Regions from separate parts of the Homo sapiens genome. Here region 2 is linked to region 1. The links are contacts of gene promoters, found by promoter capture Hi-C in human tissues and cell types (Jung and others, 2019). All regions are on one chromosome and are shown on one strand. Each heading gives the region's core, a stretch centred on a gene start or on the middle of the fragment in contact. The rest is flanking DNA. Distances are from core to core; before and after follow the strand shown.

Region 1 (3,821 bases), core at 570-3,069:
TAGCTGGGATTACAGGCATGCACCACCATGCCCAGCTAATTTTTTTGTATTTTTAGTAGAGATGGGGTTTCTCCATGTTGGCTTGGCTGGTCTCAAACTCTCGACCTTAGGTGATCCACCCACCTCACCCTCCCAAGGTGCTGGGATTACAGGCATGAGCCACCGTGCCCGGCCTCTTACCACAATTTTAATCGAACTATACTCTTTTTTCTTTTCTGAAACACAGTCTCACTCTGTCACCCAGGCTGGAGTAGAGTGTCTTGATCTCAGCTCACTGCAACCTCTGCCTCCAAGGTTCAAATGATTCTCCTGCCTCAGCCTCCCAAGTAGCTGAGATTGCAGGCGTGCATTGCCACACCTGGCTAATTTTTGTATTTTTAGTAGAGATGGGGTCTCGCTATGTTAGCCAGATTGGTCTGGAACTCCTCCTGACCTCAGGTGATCTGCCCACCCTGGCCTCCCAAAGTGCTGGGATTACAGGTGTGAGCCCCTGCCCCTGTGCCTGGCCCAATGTATACTCTTTTTTTCTTTTCTTTTCTTTTCTTTTCTTTTTTTTTTTTTTTTTTGAGACTGAGCCCTGCTCTGTTGCCCAGACTGGAGTGCAGTGGCGCCATCTAAGCTCACTGTAACCTCTACTTCCTGGGTTCAAGTGATTCTCCCGTCTCAGCCTCCCAAGTAGCTGGGATTACAGGCACATGCCACCATGCCTGGCTAATTTGTGTATTTTTAGTAGAGATAGGGTTTCACCATGTTGGCCAGGCTGGTCTCAAACTTCTGACCTTGGGTGATCTGCCTACCTTGGCCTCCCAAAGTGCTGGGATTACAAGTGTGAGCCACCAGGCCTGGCTCCAAAGTATACTCTTAACCCAAGGCAGGCACACACTGCTGCTGTCAATGATGGTATGTGGTAATAGGGAGTGGTGGGGACTGTGGAGGGAATATGGCCACAGGATGGATGATTTCACTTGGCTCTAGCAGAAGACTGGTTCTATGACAGTGTGGGCCCAGTGCTTCCAGAACTCTTCATATTTTCTTTTCTTTCTTTTTCTTTTTCTTTTTTTTTTTTTTTTTTTTTTGAGACAGAGTCTTGCTCTGTTGCCAGGCTGGAGTGCAGTGGCGTGATCTCGGCTCATCACAACCTCTGCCTCCTGGGTTCAAGTGATTCTCCTGTCTCAGCCTCCCAAGTAGCTGAGACTACAGGCGTGTGCCACCACATCCAGCTAATTTTTGTATTTTTAGTAAAGACGGGGTTTCACCACGTTGGACAGGATGGTCTCGATCTCTTGACCTCGTAATCTGCCCGCCTCAGCCTCCCAAAGTGCTGGGATTACAGGCGTGAGCTGCCGCGCCCGGCCACGCTCTCATATTTTCAAAGGAAGCCGGAAACCTGGACTTTTAAAGTGAAATACCCACCCCCCACAACATTTAAGTACTGACTAATAATTTTTAGAAACAACATAGGCCAAACAAAACACATAGGTGGCTCCGAGTTTGTAGGTAGCCTGTGGTTTAATATCTTTCTCTCCCATTTAACTCAGCTCCACGGGGCACATGGCATCTCCCTCTGCTCATCATAGTGTTTGGATCAAACAAATGAAAAACAGAAACATGACGGCCTCTACCAGCAAAAGCTCGAGGGTTGGAAAGAGTCCCCTGGCAGGGAATTGGCACCCCGTCGTGCCTATCCTCTCTCTCTGACTGCCTGCTGGAAATGCCCCCATCTCCCTTTGAGTCCTCCTCCCGGGCGACTCCTGTGACCTGTAACCTCTGTCCTGAAATCATCACAATGGCCAGGGTGGCCTCAGCTCAGGGCCTCTGTGACATCACCAAGGGCCTGGCACCAGGTGCCCAGTCTTCCAGTTGCGAGGGCAAGCAAACCCGTCATGAGCAACTCCCTTCCCCATCTCTGCTCACCATGTGGACGCTGAAATCGTCCCTGGTCCTGCTTCTGTGCCTCACCTGCAGCTATGCCTTTATGTTCTCTTCTCTGAGACAGAAAACTAGCGAACCCCAGGGGAAGGTGCCGTGTGGAGAGCACTTTCGGATTCGGCAGAACCTACCAGAGCACACCCAAGGCTGGCTTGGGAGCAAATGGCTCTGGCTTTTGTTTGCTGTTGTGCCGTTTGTGATACTGCAGTGTCAAAGAGACAGTGAGAAGAATAAGGTAAGGATGGCTCCATTTTTTTTACACCATATTGATTCAATCTCAGGAGTCTCAGGGAAACGGATGTTCTAGTGAGTCTAGGCGGCACCGTTGGGTATAATGAACCGACCTCATGGTCCTGGGCAAAGCTGGCAAATTCACTTCCTGATGTATCCTTAGTGAAGACAATAGTCCCCACATCCACAGATATTGGGACAAACAGTGGAAGATGACCTCTAGTTTCTTGGCTCAAAGTTCTTCTGGTTAGATGGATTTTTTCAAATGTAGGATAGATTCAAGAACTCAGCCGGGCGCAGTGGTTCATGCTGTAATCCCATCACTTTGGGAGGCCAGGGCAGGTGGATTGCCTGAGGTCGGGAGTTTGAGAACAGCCTGGCCAACACGGTGAAACCCCATCTCTACTAAAAATACAAAAATTAGCTGGGCATGGCGGCGTGTGTCTGTAATCCCAGCTACTCGGGAGGCTGAGGCAGAAGAATGGCTTGAACCCTGGAGGCAGAGGTTGTGGTGAGCTGAGATCACACTACTGCACTCCTGCATGGGCGACTGAGACTCTGTCTCAAAATAAAGAACTTATGGTGTGTTTTAGAAGGTCAAAATTATATTATTCACAGGGCCAAATTCACTGTTCCCTTGCTTTTTACATTTTTCCTAGTGCTTGACTTACTGAAAATTCCTGAGCTAAATGGAAATGATATCATCCCAACAAAATATGAAACTTCTGTAAGGAGATAAAGGTGTAGGCCGGGCACAGTGGCTCATGCCTGTAATCCCAGAACTTTGGGAGGCCGAGACGGGCAGATCACTTGAGGTCAGGAGATTGAGACCAGCCTGGCCAACATGGTGAAACCTCGTCTTTACTAAAAATACAGAAATTAGGCCAGGCGCGGTGGCTCACCCCTGTAATCCTAGCACTTTGGGAGGCTGAGGCGGGTGAATCACGAGGTCAGGAGTTCGAGACCAGCTGGGCAACATGGTGAAACCCTGTCTCTACTAAAAATACAAAACCTAGCTGGGCGTAGTGGCGGGCGCCTGTAATCCCAGCTACTCGGGAGGCTGAGGCAGGAGAATCACTTGAACCCTGGAGGCAGAGGTGGTAGTGAGCCGAGATGGAGCCACTGCACTCCAGCCCAGGTGACAGAGTGAGACTCTGTCTCAAAAAAAAAAAAAAAAAAAAAAAAAGCTGGGCCCAGTGGCTCATGCCTGTAATCCCAGCACTTTGGGAGGCCGAGGCGGACGGATCATCTGAGGTCAGGAAGTTGAGACCAGCCTGACCAACATGGAGAAAGCCCGTCTCTACTAAAAATACAAAATTAGGCGTAGTGGCGCATGCCTGTAATCCCAGCTACTCGGGAGGCTGAGGCAGGAGAATCGCTTGAACCCGGGAGGTGGAGGTTGCAGTGAGCCGAAACTGCGCCATTGCCCTCCAGCCTGGGCAACAAGAGCAAAACTCTGTCTCAAAAAAAAAAAAAAATACAGAAATTAGCCAGGTGTGGTGGCACACCCCTGTAATCCCAGCTACTCGGGAGACTGAGGCAGGAGAATCACTTGAACCTGGGAGGCAGAGGTTGCAGTGAGCTGAGATCGTGCCACTGCACGCCAGCCTGGGCGACAAAGTGAGACTCTGTCTCAAAAAAAAAAAAAATTAGCTGGTATG
Region 2 (3,821 bases), core at 522-3,021, 320 kb after region 1:
ATAATAAGTCACCTTCTTCATAGGTTGTGGTGAAAACTCAAGATCACGTATTTGAAGTGAACAGAAAGTGCCTGGTACCTGTCAGACCTCAGTACATTGTCACTATTATTCAAGCAGAGGTGAGGAACTGTCCTTCTGATTGAGCATGTGGCCTCAAGGGGGACAGGAGCTGGGCCTGGGAATCTTCTGGAGAGAATGGAACTGAATTATTGCCCGGAGCCGGTGGAGTCTTCCAGGCAGAAGCAGCTCTCAGGGGGCAATGTCTGGCTGCTCCTGGCCTGGCTCACGACGGGCTGCAGCCTTTGTGGCAGGCCTGTCCTGGTGGCACCATGTCTCCCTCTCCATCCTTTAGTTTTCTCGCCAAAGGCCGGGGAAGCCAGGGCCAGTGTGAGTGCTGCCTCTGGGTGGTCTCCACAGTGCGGGCGGTGACTCCACTGCCCCCAGCCCCTTGACATCTGCCTTCTGTAGAGCACAGGTTGTCACCAGTTGACACTTACACAAGCCAGAAGCAGGCCCGGCCCACACTCATTGCCATAATAAACACACGCGGTAGTTTCTGAGAGCTGAGCTGTCCCATCCATCAATCCAGCGTGACATGCAAAGGGCCCCCGTGGTGGGAGTCGTGACTTCAAAGGTCAGAGCCTGACATCCAGGTGTGTGCATCAGGGATGCTGTGTGTCCTGGGCTGCAGTGGACGGCGGAGGTGAGCCATGGGGTCTGCGTGGGTGTGAGAGTCTGCGTGCATGCATGTGTGTGTGCATATAGATATGTCTATACACATAGGTGTGTGCACATATGCATGTGTGTATGTATGTATGTGTATATTCGTTTGTGTGCATATGTATGTGTGTGCATATGTGTAGGTAGTGTTCACGTGTGTATGTGTATATGTGTGTACATGCATGTATGCATGTGTGCACATGTATATGTGTGTGTGCATGTGTGCAGGCGTATATATGTAGGTGTGTATGTGCATTTATGTGTCTATGCATGTATGCCTATGTGTGTATACATGTTGTTATATGTATACTCATGTGCATGTGTGCGCATGTGTATGTGTTTATATATTTATATGGTTGTGTGCATGTGTATATGTAATGTGTGCAAATGTGTGTGTGTGCAGGCAAGCACATTAGATCAGGAGATCTCAATTCAAACATGTTCAGCCGCCAGCAAGGTTGTATAAATGTGAAAATGGGATGGGATAGAGAGAAAGTGACTCTGGTCCTTCAAATATAGGGCACATATGGTATAGAGTGCCGAGGACTGTGGCAAACAGGAAGCCTGTATCCCTGAGTGCAGCAGATGCAACCTCGTTGCTGCTGCATGAGGAATGCGGATCCAGTGTTACCAGGAATCCTCATTTTTCAAGAGAAGCCAGAAAGCTGGATTTTTATGTGAAATGGCTTGATTTTTAAGAATCTATTGTCAGCCCATTGAAGGAGATTGTTAAATGTCTCCTGGGTCAAAGAAAACACATGTGAGGCTTGAATTTGGCCTGTGGACATCCAGTGAGCAGTCGATCGCCACTGTGGTCATTTCTTTCTGATGTAGAAGGGACTACCCTACCAAGCTGGGCTTTTCCCAGAAGATCCTGCACTGGCTTGGAGGAATGGATCCTAATGGGGTGGTTTTGCCCACAGGAGGCATTTGGCAATGCCTGGAGACAGTTTTGGTGATCAAAACTGGGTCGTTGTTGTTGGTGGTGGTGGTGGTGGTGGTGGTGGTGCGCTCAATACTGGCAGCTGGGGTAAAGCCAGGGATGCTGCTGAACATCCTACAGTGCCCGGGACAACCCCTAGCCTACCCCAAGTTAAAGAATAATCTGGCTTGGCCGGGCACGGTGGTTCACGCCCATTATACCAGCACTTTGGGAGGCTGAGGTGGGTGTATCATTTGAGGTCAGGAGTTCAAGACTAGTCTGGCCAACATGGCGAAACCACGCCTTTACTGAAAATATAAAAATTAGCCAGGCTTGGTGGCAGGCACCTGTAATCTCAGCTACACGGGAGGCTGAGACAGGAGAATTGCTTGAACCCGGGAGGCAGAGGTTGCAGTGAGCAAAGATCATGCCATTGAACTCTAGCCTGGGCAACAAGAGTGAGACTCTGTCTCAAAAAAAAAAAAAAAAAAAAAAAAAAAAAAGAATAATCTGGCTCTAAATGTTGACAGTGAAGTGAGGTAGCTGAGAAACCTTGAATTAGAATCATCCCGAGGGTGATTTGAGAAGGCCAGCTTCTGGTTGTGGAAATTCCTCACTTATGAGCAGTGGCCTTTAGGAGTCAGTTTACACCTGATTTAAAATGTCCTCCAAAGGTCATCTTTCCAGCCTAGTGGCCTGTCCAGTGCTTTCCTGACATGCCAGCCCCGTGATAGGTGTGTCACATGTCTGAAATCAGCAAACCTCTCAACTCCCAGGAGACAAACCACTTTTATCCCCATTTTACAGGTGAGAATACTGAGACAGAGAAAAACCGAGCAAGAGTCTGTGGTCACACACACACATACACACACACCACACAGGAAAGTTGGTAGAGCCTGGATGTACTTTGGACAGTCTGACTCCAAACCCACCCCCTTAATGACAGGTCTACACTGTGAGAAGACATGGACTGAAATTGTTTTGCATTCTCTTGCACATCTGAGAGTTTGCTTGACTGCTTTTTATGCCTGGAACATTCTTCTCTTGGAAAACACCTACTTAACTTTCAGGGCTCAGTTCTAAAAGCTCCTTCTCCCGAACGTTTCCCCCTGAGGAGGGACTAGGTCAGGCACCCAGTCTGGGGTTCCTTCACCAACAAGGTGTTTTCCCTAACAGAGATCATTTCTCATTTACTGTGATTGCTTCAGTTTCTGTCTTATTGTGGCATGAGCATCCATCACAGCCATGCTAATACCTGGCACATGCTAGGCACTGACTAACTGTTGAATGAGCGGATCAATGAATGGATGGGTGTTTCCTTGCTTCCCAATTAGCTTTATTTCTGAACTTTGCAGTTGAGTCTTTTTGATGAGCTAGGCGCTGTTCTAAGTACTTTACGTGTATTAACTTGCTGATCTTTGCAACAGTCTTATGAGGTAGGCATTATTACTATCCCTGTTTATTCTCATTTACTCAACTTCTTAGGCAAAGAGAAGTTAAGGAACTTGCCAAAGTCACACAGCTAGTAAGTGGCAAGGACTTCTTCAGTGGCTGCCGCAGTGACTTTCTGCAGGCCTGGGAACAGAGCTGAGCTTTGTTCTTGTCCTAACTCTCTGGATCTCCAGATAAGGGCTCAGTGAGCTTATATTATGTGACTCAGGACAGATTCACATACAAACAACTATTTTACCGAACATCTACAATGTGGTGGGCATTGAATTAATTGAAGTGGTTATATTTTCATGTACCTTTGTCATTTGTATCTCTTGTTTAAGTATTTGCTTGTTTACATCCTATTAGTATATTTGACTGTCTGTTATTGATTAGCAATTACTCTTTACATATTAAGGCTCTACACAATATGTTTGTCACCTTTTTCATATTTCCCCAATTTAGTTATTTTTCAACTTGCTTATACTTTTTTATTTGCTATTCAGAGTTTAATTTTTAGGTAATTAAAAATGTTTTTTATGGTTTTAGTCCTTAGTACCATGCTTTGAGACTCTTTTTATCCCCAAGATTATAAAATATTAATTCATAGTTATTTTTCTATTCCTTTTAGTTTCACTATTTACATTATTTGTTTGCTTGCTTATTTAACATTTTAATCTTTGGTCCACCAGGAATACATTTTGCCATATGAGGTGAGGCGAGAATCTCAGTTTGTTTATTCAATAGG

The links. Contacts are between HindIII fragments. The study calls those that stand out against the background at their distance.
Region 2: a contact is called between a fragment that was not itself captured here and the fragment with the promoter of FAM209B in region 1, in 4 of the 25 tissues and cell types used here (aorta, mesenchymal stem cells, mesendoderm cells and 1 more).

Annotation. Positions count from the first base shown.
Region 1 is chr20:56,531,427-56,535,247 of GRCh38, forward strand. FAM209B (family with sequence similarity 209 member B) reads left to right here and starts at 1,820. Exons shown (of 2, transcript NM_001013646.4): 1 at 1,820-2,164. The coding sequence starts at 1,916. It also overlaps a transcript of FAM209A not described here. The HindIII fragment of the contact is 6,468 bases long and covers 1-2,383 here.
Region 2 is chr20:56,848,321-56,852,141 of GRCh38, forward strand. No RefSeq gene overlaps it. Among named protein-coding and RNA genes, the nearest start is that of TFAP2C, 220 kb to the left of the region's middle. RefSeq lists a silencer at 249-394. The HindIII fragment of the contact is 7,669 bases long and covers 1-3,821 here.